2 separate regions of the Homo sapiens genome follow, and region 1 is linked to region 2. The links are contacts of gene promoters, found by promoter capture Hi-C in blood cells and fetal thymus (Javierre and others, 2016). All regions are on one chromosome and are shown on one strand. Each heading gives the region's core, a stretch centred on a gene start or on the middle of the fragment in contact. The rest is flanking DNA. Distances are from core to core; before and after follow the strand shown.

Region 1 (6,650 bases), core at 1,881-4,380, 420 kb after region 2:
GCACTCGAGCCTGGGCAACAGAGTGAGAACCTGTCTCAAATACATAAAAATACATTGTGTCATATCGATTTGTGAAAAGTTCCTACTTTAAGAGAGCTTACATGTAACAGAAAACCACCAGGCAATTAAAACAGTTTCTATAAGGGCTATTAAAGTGCAAGATTCTAGAGAGGCATTTAGGAGTGGCATCTGTCCAAGCCAAACTTGCTGTGTGAGTGCAGGAATATACAAAATGTTAAGTCTAAACAAAGTAGAGAGATCATTTCAGGTAGAGGCCATTCCATCTACATCCTCCTATTAATTAGAAGGCACTTTGAGGATAGGTATTGCCTCTTGTTTATCTAGATAAACTCCAGAGTTTAGTTTGGCTTAAATCTGTTAATTCTATTAACTTAATTCTGTTATTCTCGATTAACTCTGTTAAACAGAAAAGATGCTCAATAAATTGTTTCTCAGTTGAATGGGAAAAAACCAATTACTTAAAATTGGGAATGCTGACTTTCAAAGAGGCTGAATAGATTTCAGCCTAAGCTTAAAAATTCATTTTTTTCTGGCACCTTTGCAACGAGGAACTAGTTTTCTATAACGTGGTTGGCCTGAAACTGAATTGTTCTAATGATAATGCATAGATACTACAAGCCTAGAAGAAACATGTCCTATTATAGAGCAGAGACATTCCTGCTGAATTCTTCATTATATTGGATATAACTGAAACTAATTGTCTTACCTTTGAATATTTATAAGTTCAAAAATAGTCAACATTTATTCTAATGGTATAACTTTTTTTTTTTTTTTGGAGACAGTCTCACTCTGTCACTCAGGATGGAGTGCAGTGGCATGATCTCAGCACACTGCAGCCTCCACCTCCCAAGTTCAAGTGATTCTCATGCCTCAGTCTCCTGAGTAGCTGGGATTACAAGCGTCCGCCACCATGCCCAGCTAATTTTTGTATTTTTAGTAGAGAGGGCATTCTGCCATGTTGGCCAGGCTGGTTCTCGAACTCCTGACCTCAAGTGATTGGCCTGCTAAAGTGTTGGGATTACAGGTGTGAGCCACTGCACCTGGCCAAGGTGTAAAATTTTAAAGCGCCTTTGGTTGAAACCAAACTATTTCCACATTGTACTTTAACAAGTGAATGGTTAGAATGCTATTTTGCATTAGTTTCCAATTTGTGAATGGCAAATTCCCAGGGGCCATAGAGTTACTGTCAAGATGAAAGAATCTACCAAAGACCAACCCAAGTTTATACCCTTCACTGTCTGCCACGGTAGCCATTAGCTACATATAGCTACTCAACACTTGAATTGTGGCTAGTCTAATTTTAAGCTATAGATGCGGTATAGCTTGAAATGCACACTGGATTTTCAAGATTTTATATGAAAAATGGAATGCAAAACATCTCATTAACCATTTTTATATTAACTATATGTTGAAATAATATTTTGGGTATATTAGGTTAAATACACTACTAAAAATAATTTTCGGCTGGGCACAGTGGCTGATGCCTATAATTCCAGCACTTTGGGAGGCCAAGGTGAGCAGACCACGAGGTCAGGAGTTCGAGACCATCCTGGCCAACATGGTGAAACCCCATCTCTACTAAAAATACAAAAATTACCTGGGCGTGGTGGCATGTGCCTGTAATCCCAGCTACTCGGGAGGCTGGAGAATCAGCAAATTTTACCTGTTTTTTACTTCTTTAATGTGATACTAGAAAATTTAAAATTATACATGCAGCTCAACATTTTATGAGACACCACTGCAGCAGACTAAATAAATGATTTATAAAGCATGTATTGGGCCGGGCACGGTGGCTCACGCCTGTAATCCCAGCACTTTGGGAGGCTGAGGTGGGTGGATCACGAGGTTGGGAGTTCAAGACCAGCCTGGCCAACATAATGAAACTCCATCTCTACTAAAAATACAAAATTAGCTGGGCGTGCTGGTACATGCCTGTAATCCCAGCTACTCGGGAGGCTGAGGCAGGAGAATTGCTTGAACCCGGAAGGCGGAGGTTGTGGTGAGCCGAGATCATGCCATTGTACTCCAGCCTGGGCAACAAGAGTGAACTCCGTCTCAAAAAAAAAAAAAAAGAAAAGAAAAAAAAATTATACCCCAATAATGGGAACCACTACTTTACACACTATGGATTCATAATAAAATTTATTTGAGGGAGAATGGAGATAAGAGGATAAATAAGAGGCCAGCCAGTGGGTGTGCAAAGCACTTCATATTGGCTCTTGGAAAGTCGCTTTGTGAAAAATGTTCAACTGTAAGTGAAAGGAGAGGAGAAAAGACGTTTACCTCCTGGAGTGGGGTTTTGCATTGGATATGATAGGCCTAAAAAGTGAGTCCTGAGGATTCATATACCGGGGGTGGGGGGTGGGGGTCTTTTAGGAATGAAAGGCAGGGGAGATGGCTCTCTGTAGGAGTGATTCTATGCAATTGCAATTTTAATTGCAAAAACCACAATTACTTTTGTGCGAACCTAATAGTAACAGTTTCCAAAAGAGAGAAGATAAAGAGAATAAAATGCCTAGCTTACAGAACCATATTTGGTCTGAGGATGCATAATTAAGGATTCTTAATTATATATATATATATAATTTACATATATTACATACAAAATATGATAATCTTTTACTAGCTCATATAAACTATCGATCTGCAGTAACTGAAGAATAACAATATTTTTTCTCTAATTCATCAGGTATAATTTGCCATAATTTAAAAGAGAAATATGGAAGAATTATCACCAATCCAGACATAGAAGTACTCAAGAGTAACAGTACACCTAAAATGGTTTCTGCTAGCCTTTATTTGAGAAAATTTACACAAAAATCCCCAATCCAACATTTACAAGTGAATCTGTATAAATCCCATATGCCTCTTTCCCAAACAAACCAAGAAATGGCTTTATGACAGGGGTCCATGACAATGGTATAACAAGGCTTACTTAAACTGCATCATTCTCATTTATATTATACAGACCATTTTGGATAATATGCTCAAAAATGGAGGAAAGCACATAACACCCGATTTTAAAGCTTATTTGCTCTTGTGTCAGTCTTTTGTCAAAGGCAAATACATTTACTTTTTAGATAAAACCAAAGTATAATATCAATTAACTTTTAAACCAAAAGCACAAAATGTCCCAGTTGATAGTTTCGGCATGAGTAAAGGGAAGGGACATGAAAGAATGTCAACTCCTACAAAGCTTAAGTTTAGGGTCACACTTGGGAACAAAAGCATCAACGAAATAAAATATTCTCTTCTCCTATCTTCTTGACATTTTGTCACATCACAAGAACATAACTAAGAGAGTAGCTTTCGTTGCTCCTAAAAAGGGGAAAGGCACCAGTCAGAAATAGGAAAGAAAATCTTGTTAGGCTAACGGTACATGATAGAAATTTCACATTTAAAAGTTTAAAGATGGAGGCTGGGTGTGGTGGCTCACGCGTGTAATCCCAGCACTTTGGGAGGCTGAGGCAGGCAGATCACTTGAGGTCAGGAGTTCGAGACCAACCTGGCCAATATGGTGAAACTCTGCTTCTACTGAAAATACAAAAATTAGCCAGGCATGGTGGTGTGCACCTATATTCCCAGCTACTCAGGAGGCTGAGGCAGGAGAATTGCTTGAACCCAGGAGGTGAAGGTTGCAGCGAGCTGAGATAGTGCCATTGCACTCCAGCCTGGGCGTTGCAGCAAGACTCCGTCCCCCCCCCCCCAAAAAAAAAAAAGTTTAAGGATGTATCTTAACCCACATATTATTTTCTCTACTTGGATGCATCCTCTGTAACTTAGTATATGTAATACTACAGATAGACTTTCTCAACATTTGCTGCCTATGCTAAGGATCTGCAGCCAGGTTCTCAGAAGCAGTACCTACCAATTCTCAACAGCAGATGGCAATGTTGTACAAGTTAACGACAGAACTACTTTTATGCCACAGGAGAGGAAGACACAAGGAGTCAAAAGGGGGAAAAAAAAAGTTTGGGTTCATAGTAGCAGGAACATTAACAGAATAGCCTGAGATTTTAACAGCATAACTCATTCCCTCTTCCACCTTTGTACTTTATCCAGGTCAACACATCAGGGTTCTCTAACGATTCCAGTATTCTGTTTCTTTACTGTAAGATACATGTAATTCTTGCCACTGTGATTAAACAAGCCCTGTAATAGTCAGCAGGGTTAAAAAGAGATTACGGAAAGGATAAACTCCTACCTACTTTCTTGGGAGATGTGGGAAAGATTTCAAGTCACAGCATTTTTCATAACTGTTTATAAACAATGGTCATTTATATCCACACTTTCTCTTATTTACATTAGTTTTGGCCCTTAGGCAACTCATACTCCTACAGTGATTATTGGCTTTGCTTTCATAACATGTATTTTTAAGTATTTACTCTCTTAATGGCCCTCGATGTCTATTTTATACATCATATCTCTTAATTCTCTAGATGGAACACTGAAGGACAGGAATTAAGTAAGTGACTGGCCATGCAAGGGTTGGAAATTTTACTTATTTTTCCTTGGTAGAAGTTATGTTAAAAATTCAAGCAACCACATATCTAACAGAGGAATTTTATCTAGGATATATAAAAAACCTCTCAAAACTCAATAGTAAAAAGAACAAATGACCTAAATAGAAAATAGACAAAAGACATGAAGACATTTCACCGAAGAGGATACATAGATGGCAAATTAGCACACAAAAAGATACTCAACATCATTAGCCATTGGAAATGCAAATTAAAACCACATGTGGTATCATTACACACATCTATGTGAATGGTTAAGATAAAAAATAGTAGTAATACCAAATGCTGGTGAGGATGTGAAGAAACTGGATCAATCATACATTGCTGTCTGAATTGTATGAGTGGCTGTATGTAAAAAGTAGAGCCACTCTGGAAAAAGAGTAGGGTAGTTTCTTACAAAAATATATGTGTTTACCATACAACCCAACAGTTGCCCTTTTGAGCATTTATCCCAGAAAATGAAAATGTATGTTCACATAAAAACCTGTACATGAATGTTCACAGCAGCTTTATTAGGGCAAAAAACTGAAAACAACTCTTATGTCCTTTAGTGGGTGAATGGTTAAGCAAACTGTGGTACATCCATACCATGGAATACTACTCAGCAATCAAAAGGAACTGCCCCCACTTCACCACGATGCAATATATGCATGTAAGAAATCTGTACTTATACCCCCTAAATATATAAAACATTTTTAAAAGAAAAAAAGGAAGAAACTATTCATACATGCAACAACTTGGATGGATTTCAAGGGAATTATGCTGAATGAAAAAAGATCAGCCTCGTAAGATTACATTCTGTATGATTCCATTCATACAACATTCTTGAAATGACAAAATTACAGAGATGGAGGACAGAACAGTGGTAGCCACAGGTTGGGGTGAGGGTATAAGAAAGGGATGTGGCTGCGGCTGTAAAAGGGCAGTGCAAGGGATCCATGTGACAGAACTGTTCTGTCTCTTGTGATGGTGGTCACATGAATCTACACATGTGATAATATTGCATAGAATTAAATACACATACACGAAAAAAGTTCAAGCAGTTGAGCACAAATATTTTAATTGTCTAAAATGACATTTTCTTTAAGAGTTATCTACAGTTCAAAGCTCACTTTTATGAGGTGTCACATCCATCACCATTTTAAGAGATATAAAATCATGAAAAGATATCACCAGAAGCTATGTAAACATTTCAGCTAAGGGTAAAGAGAAAGTTAAGGGTGTTTTCACAAGGAAATTGAAAGAGGGCAATCCAAATGAAGTCAACATGGTCACACAAAAATCTTGGTAAAAGAACTAGAATGGAAGCCCAAGCTGCTGAGCAAGTGGGAGAAGAAAAGAAAACATAGTCCAAACAGATCACACAAGGGAACCCAGGACAAATGCTGACTTTGGCATTATCTAGGTAACCCCTATTTTTTGTCATAGGTGACTCTAATAATAGACCTATTGTTGCAAAACCAGTCAAAATCCTACCAAATTAAAAAGAAGTCCCTCATTGACTTGTTGGGTGTAGGTGGTACCCCATGTCCTCCCACACCAAAAGAGATCAGTTCTGGCAAGAAAGCTCCAACGTGCCTTGATGGTGCTGTTGGTAGGATGCCTTAGGCCAGGCACGTCCCAGCGATGTTCTGCTGGCTGAGGTACAAGGTGGGAGGAGAATATGCCTCATTCATTACTCAATCAATTTCTTGGCCTTGAAGAAGCGTCGCAGGTAGAAGACCTGCCAGGTAGCTAGTCCAATGAGACAGAACATTGAAAAGATGCTGAAGTATAGGACCCGAGTGTTTGTTGACTCTAAAAAAAAACAAAAGCATTGTAAACATAATGAAGTGAGCCTCCTCAGCTGGCTAAACAATGGCAGGGGAGGTGGGTAAAGGCAATTAATTAACTTCACTCTGTCCCTAGGTCTAACAGTAGGATTTCAGATAATTTTTCTTTTTAAGTTCATTATCCTGGCTGGGCATGGTGTAATCCCAGCCTGTAATCCCAGCACTCTGGGAGGCTGAGGCAGGCAGATCATGAAGTCAGGAGATCGAGACCATCCTGGCTAACTCTGTCTCTATTAAAAATACGAAAAATTAGCCAGGCATGGTGGCTTGTGCCTAT
Region 2 (6,852 bases), core at 3,199-5,698:
AAAGTACAATATATAGAAAATCAATTAACAGATGTTAACTATTGGCATCTCAACAGTAACAAGCTGCACTGAAATAAATGCCTTCGCTCTGAAAAACATGATGCAAATTGCTCAACTATTCAAGATAACAAAAACTCATAAAATCATATGGAACCGTTCAATTAGACTAAATGACAAAACATGTATCTACCATGACTATTTAGTTTCTAATAGCTAAGTGAATACCCATCTTTCTCTATAAACCCTATCTTGTAGAACAGTCTTCAAAAGAGCCACCAGGAAAACATCACTATGGTGCTGTAACACCATATCAACAGCTCAGGCATGCGTGTGTGTACACACACATACATACACACAAACTGCAATAAGGTTAAACAACCTCAAAAGTTTGAAAACTACTATATGAAAGAACATTAGTGAAGGCTAAGCATTCAGAACCCTTCAAAGAAAAAGAAACCAAAGAAAAATAACTGAAATTTAAACCCAAGTTAGTTAATAGCTAAAGTCATTTAAAAGGTAAAACGGTCAGGCACAGTGGCTCATGCCTCTTCTCCCAGCTACTCAGGAAGCTGAGGTGGGAGGATGGCTTGAGGCCAGGAGTTCAAGATCAGCCTGGGCAACATAGCAAGATCTAATAAATAATAAATAAAAGGTAAAATGATACACTAGAGTCCATTAAGGTCATAAAATCTGATCTATTACATGGTACTAATATGTTGATAGTATTAAATAAATATTACACAACAGTACTCTGACCTGGACCACTTACAGAAAGATGAACAAGAAGAGTAATTCCTCTAAAATATTTCAACTCCCACATCTCTATTCAGCCACCAACCATACTTTACCTATTTACAAGTCTTTCTGTAATACAGGACTGTGGTGAGATTGCCCAGGACAGAATGGGCCCTCAATAAATGCTTTCTGAATGAATGACCAAGCGGCAGTAATCTATCTCTGAGGTATTCTTACAAACCAATTCAATATCAAGACCTCAGAAGCAGAACATGCTGTATGCCATGCTACCACATTTAGGGGCAGGCAAGTTAATTGAAAAATAATTAACAGCGACTAATGTTTGTTGGGAGAAAAAAAGTCCTATCATGTAAGTCAGAAAAATAAATGTAAAAACTATAACTTGAAAATGGACAAAAAAGTGAATCTACTTATAACTTTCTAACATTGAAATACAAGATGTTCTTTAAGGAGTCTTTCATTATCCAGAATAATTTTACAAAGAAATTTGATACCAACTTAAATTAGTAAGTTAGACCAATTAGTGAATGGAATGAAGTCCAAGCCCAATTATGTGTTCAAACTGTGTGTCCAATGCCTTGGGTGATTTTTTCTCTTCAAGACTGCAGAAAAATGCAAAACAACCCTCTTGACTGCTGAGAAGGACTAAAATCATTTCTTTTCCTCACAAGTATGTGCCCAAAAGCAATTACTTTCTGCTCCCATCCATCACAAATCAACACTACCTCCCAGCTTCGCATCCCCCACTTTCCATCCCCATCAAAGAATGCTGTAGAGTATCTGACCACTTTCATTTCACGCTATAAGAACCTCAGATTGCAATAAAATTACAATGCAACAAAAACAAATTTTTCTAAGTATGTTCTTATCCCCCATGGTGTTCCTACACTAATTTAGCTCCCTATTAGGTATTAACAATCAAGGAAATCAGAACACTCTCAATAGAGGTTACAATAGAAATTACAAATGGCCTTTTTTTAAGTTGTTGTTGTTCATGGATTCCAAAATTCAAAGTACACATTACCAGAAGAGCGTTTTTCTGTCAGTGCCTAAATTTAAATGCAAATTACTATTTAATGATATGCAATTTTCCCTCTGAACCTATATATAATACTAATGAGTCAAATGTTTAAGAAGAATAACTGACCATGTTATTTTAGCTTTTAGACAATAAAAAGCTTATTGTCTAATCACCAAGAGATACATCAAAAAACTGGTTGCTATTAGCTCTACACATGAATGGCAGCTTGACAGAGACAAGCTGCTCCAGAAAGATTAGGAACTTCTAGTGACCACAAATGGGGTAAAGCAGAAGGCACATACAGTATCTGTAGCTACCATTTCTACATCAAAAATTCAGTGCCCACAGATATGTAAACTATTAAGCCATCTAAATGAATGTGTGCCTGAAAGAGAAAGGAGAAGCAGAAAAAGTTTACACCCAAATCAACAGAAGAAATCACCCTGCGATTGAGCATCCCAGGACCTGAAAACTTAATGTTTTGAGGTTTATGAACACGTTCAAGTTCCAGTGCAACTATGTTAAAATAAAATTGGGCTGGTGCCAGGCACGGTGGCTCACGCCTGTAATCCCAGCACTTTGGGAGGCCAAGGTGGGCGGATCACCTGAGGTCGGGAGTTCAAGACCAGTCTGACCAACATGGAGAAACCCCGTCTCTACTAAAAATATAAAATCAGCCAGGCGTGTTGGCGCACGCCTGTAATCCCAGCTACTCAGGAGGCTGAGGCAGGAGAATCGCTTAAACCTGGGAGGTGGAGGTTGCAGTGAGCCGAGATTGCGCCATTGCACTCCAGCCTGGGTAACAAGAGCGAAACTAACTCCGTCTCAAAAAAAAAAAAAAAAAATTGGGGCTTGGCACAGTGGCTCACGTCTGTAATCCCAGAACTTTGGGAGGCCGAGGTGGGCAGATCACCTGAGGTCAGGAGTTTGAGACCAGCCTTGCCAACATGGTGAAACCCATCTCTATTAAAAATACAAAAATTAGCAAGGTATGGTGGCACACACATGCCTGCAGTCCCAGCTACTCGGGAGGCTGAGGCAGGAGAATTGCTTGAACCTGGGAGGGGGAGGTTGCTGTGAGCCGAGATTGCGCCACTGCACTCCAACCTGGGCAGCAGAGGGAGGCTCTGTCTCAAAAATAAAATAAAATAAAATAAAATAAAATTGGCATAAAATTCCAACCCTGCCACACATCCTCAAGTTGGAAGACACACAATGGTAACAACAGAAAACACTCTGAGTAGTCTGGTTTACACTCTTCTAGGGACCTCGCATGTTAACTATGAATAAACATAAGTCCTGATAACATCCCAATAAAAGAGTGCTACTATGATTATCTCCATTTTACAGATAAAGAAACTGAGATGCAGATAGATTAACTCACCCAATGTCATGGCGAGTTATAAGGCAGAGCAAGGATTTTAACCCCATCAGTCAGACTCCAAAGTTCGTGTTAAACAATAAACGTGTTTTCATCATAAGGGTTATACAATGGTCACCTTCTTTTTTAAACCTGATAACATATTTTACTTCCAACTCTAGGATAGCATCATGCAATAAGAAAAGTATGACAGAGGTACCCATTCCGTTCCCAGCTTGATCAGTAGCTGGAGAATGGAAGACAAAGTGCAAAAAAAAAAAAAAAAAAAAAAAAAAAAAGAAAAAAAAAGAAAGAAAGAAAGAAAGAAAAAGAAAAAAAGAAATACAAGTACAGACTTTGGAATCACGAGACTCAAACAGACCCCTGAACAAAGTCTGGGGCTCAATTTCCCCATATGTAAAATAAAAGAATTTATGTTATTGAGAAGGTCAAAGAAGGTAATATGAATAAAGTGACAAGTACAGTATACAGGATGGGGGTTTTCATTTAAAGTTTACAGACACCCAGAGGGTCCACGGATGGGCTTCAGAGTCCACCAATCTCATTAAGTGTATTACAAACTGTATGTGTGCCCATTTTTTAAAGAATTGTTCCTGGCTTTCCACAAACTTTCAAGAAATAAGTTATCTCCAAAAAGTTAAGAACCACTGGAATACATAGCAGGTACTCAAAGAAAAAAGCTACCTTTCGCTCCTTGTTCTCACAAATTCTCCCTTTTTACTTAAAGATGACACACCAAGGCTTCACAATAAATGTGCATTGTATCTCACCATTTTCTTGGCTTGGGTAAGTAGTAACATATGCAAGCTTATGCCCCAATTCTCTAGCGATAGTCTAGGCCCTCAAACACTGCTTCATTTCTCTCTTCACCGAGAGGAGTACACGGTATATACTCGAGAACAATCATCCACCTAGCTGCACAAAGCACCATATCGGCTAGGAAAACCAAATAGGAACCACAGCCTCAGGGCTGGACCATAGACACCGGATACCCCAACGCTACAGGGTGAGGAGAATGTGTTCCCCCAAACTACTGGGCAAACCAGGAGTCTGAACCCCCCTACCCTTTTCCTCCCTCTCTCTCTGGAACTCTGGTAAAGGCAGGTCTTCTGGGCTCTGCCTAAGGCTGGAGAGAAACGTTACCCGAGCCGGGGGTTGCAGCGCGACGAAGTTCCACCTCCGCTGTCCTGGGAAGGGGCGGCAGCACTCAGCAGAAGACGGGCTCCCCACTCTCCCACCAACAGACCCCAGAGTTGGTCTCCACCCGGCCTGGGAACCGGCTCGGGGGATTGCCCTTTCCCCAAGGAGTTTCCGCTTCCGGGCTATCCTTTGCCGGAAGCAGTATGTGAATGACGTAGAAGTATTGCGCCGTTGGTGATTACGGAAGAACCAGGAGTTTGGCGTGACCATGGTGAGAGAAGACGGTCCAAGAAGGGACGTTATCAGGCCACTTTTTGGGTGGAGAAGGAGGTAGTCAGACCGTGGCCAAATTTCCTTCACATTATCCTAGCATATTTTCATTCTGGTCTTAGCTCTTAAACTTCTCCAAGCGGTGACTGTTATGCTTTACAGAGTGGGGAAGAGGGTCTGGGTTATTTGAGGCAAGAAGGGAAGGCAATAGACAAGAGAAAAGAAGAGACTTTAAAAGATGCCGTGTGTTTCCAACTTTTTTAATTCTAAAATTTCTGTTTCAAGGGGAAGCAAAAGAAAACAAGGAAGTATGCGACCATGAAGCGAATGCTTAGTCTCAGAGATCAGAGGCTGTGAGTGTCTGGAATCAACTGCCCAGGGATATTCTAATAAGAGTCTAGAGAGGATAAGTAGTAAAAATGTTTGTTGTTATTATTTTGTTTTTTGCTTATTATCGTGTCTTAGATTTATATAGCATGAGATAGCCAGTGTTTAACAGTAATTTAGCTGCTGAGCGATCACACTGGGAAAGGCGATGGGAATTAAACATTTCTTAAGTGTTCACTTTTTCTACCGTTATATGCTTTGTCTGCCATATCGCATTTAAACCTCATGTCAGTTCGGTGAAGTCCGTATAGTTCTCTTTATGTTTTTACCATTACACTACTACATTCCCCTGGGGTGGGGCGAGGGGAGTGTTTCTTGTTGAAAGATGGCAAGGTTAGAGACCTTGTTTGTCTGGCGTTTCCAGTGCCTGGTACTCAAATATTTTTGTCAGAGAAAATGGGAAAACTCCAAGATATCTCCATTTTATAAGTCTTACTAATATAAGAATCCAAATCACTGTGGAAGAAGAAAGTGAAGTGAAATTCCCTAGTATGAAGAGGATCAAAGCGGTGTCCCTGCTTAAGTGTAGAATAAGCATAGCTATTAAATAAAGACTGATCTTCACTGAGTTTAAGAGTCTCAGAAAGCCGGGCGCAGTGGCTCACGCCTGTAATCCCAGCACTTTGGGAGGCTGAGGCGGGTGGATCACCTGAGGTGAGGAGTTCAAAACCAGCCTGGCCAACACGGTGAAACCCTGTCTCCACTAAAAATACAAAAAAGAGTCTCAGAATAAGAGAATAGTCGTTAAAACCTTCAGAATTATTATTCTCAGCCTTTAGTGTGGATGTATTGTGTAATTTTTAGGAATGACACTCCATTAATAATAATTTCTTTCTAGTTAAGGGTTAAGTTCTGTATATGCGTTTTTACATTTTAGCCCTTTATAAGAAGCATATGGGGTAATACTTTTCCCCCAAAAGTTAAAGCATCTGAATCTTCAGAAGATAACTGTCACCCTTTTACCCATTGCTTGGAAGTGGATTGTGATCCTTGATGTGAGAGATTCTGACTAAAAAATAAATATAGTATAATCAGCTTTTATTTACTCATTAACAATTCTTATGCATTATTGGCATTACTGGTTAATTCTGATACTTCCAGGTACTGTGCTTTGCACTAGAGTTATTTGCTCAGAAAGAGTATGCTGATATTAACATGAGGATATCACAAAGTAGGATTTCTTCAGTAGACCAAAAAAAAAAAAAAATGGAACTTTAGATTTTTGAGATTTTAATTGCTGTGGTTTTTCTTCTCCCTTGGATTTAATTTACCTTTTTCTTCCTAGTAAAGAAAAGGATAGATTAAAACCTAAAAAGAAAGAAAAGAAGGATCCCAGCGCATTAAAGGAAAGAGAAGTGTGAGTAATCAAACGTTTGAAGTTTTCCTTTAAAACCATAGACCTCTTAGAAATCCAGGCTTTCCCTGAGCTGGTTTGCTAACTTATTTGTTAGTAAGTCTAGCACAACTATGTAGATGAAAGTCATATCGATGAGCATATATCAATTCTAGTGGTTTGAAGGTTTTGGGATTTTATGGAGCAGTAAAATTTCCCCTAAAATCCTGGAGATATTATCTAGGATTATTAACTTTTTCTTTGCCAGGGATCTTTTAAGAGACATAAGTGCCATTGTTTAACACACCAGCAGTTCATAAAAGAGAGACTGTATCACCAAAAAATATTTAAAATATATTTTCAGAATAAAGATATTTATATAAAGATATGACCTTTATATAAAGATATAAAGGTATTTCATTCCTTTTAAGTAAGTACATTTAACTTTATGAAAACTTTACCACATTTTCCTTATTTTTCTAATTTTTCCCTGGATTGGTAATGGACATATTATCACAGGTAGATACTGATCCATGGCCTAGCATTTGGAATCACTGTCATATT

Evidence for each region. Contacts are between HindIII fragments. The CHiCAGO score rates a contact against its expected background, and 5 or more counts as called.
Region 1: a fragment that was not itself captured here is called in contact with the fragment with the promoter of AREL1 in region 2 in 1 of 17 cell types (fetal thymus); the score reaches 5.6 in fetal thymus.

The regions. Positions count from the first base shown.
Region 1 is chr14:75,128,669-75,135,318 of GRCh38, forward strand. It overlaps TMED10 (transmembrane p24 trafficking protein 10), which reads right to left. Exons shown (of 5, transcript NM_006827.6): 5 at 2,801-6,338. The coding sequence ends at 6,217. Among named protein-coding and RNA genes, the nearest start is that of NEK9, 4.9 kb to the left of the region's middle. The HindIII fragment of the contact is 170 bases long and covers 3,046-3,215 here.
Region 2 is chr14:74,708,632-74,715,483 of GRCh38, forward strand. AREL1 (apoptosis resistant E3 ubiquitin protein ligase 1) reads right to left here and starts at 4,449. Exons shown (of 20, transcript NM_001039479.2): 1 at 4,302-4,449. It overlaps FCF1 (FCF1 rRNA-processing protein), which reads left to right and starts at 4,513. Exons shown (of 8, transcript NM_015962.5): 1 at 4,513-4,569; 2 at 4,854-4,921; 3 at 6,241-6,312. The coding sequence starts at 4,567. RefSeq lists an enhancer at 4,347-4,626. The HindIII fragment of the contact is 16,377 bases long and covers 3,964-6,852 here.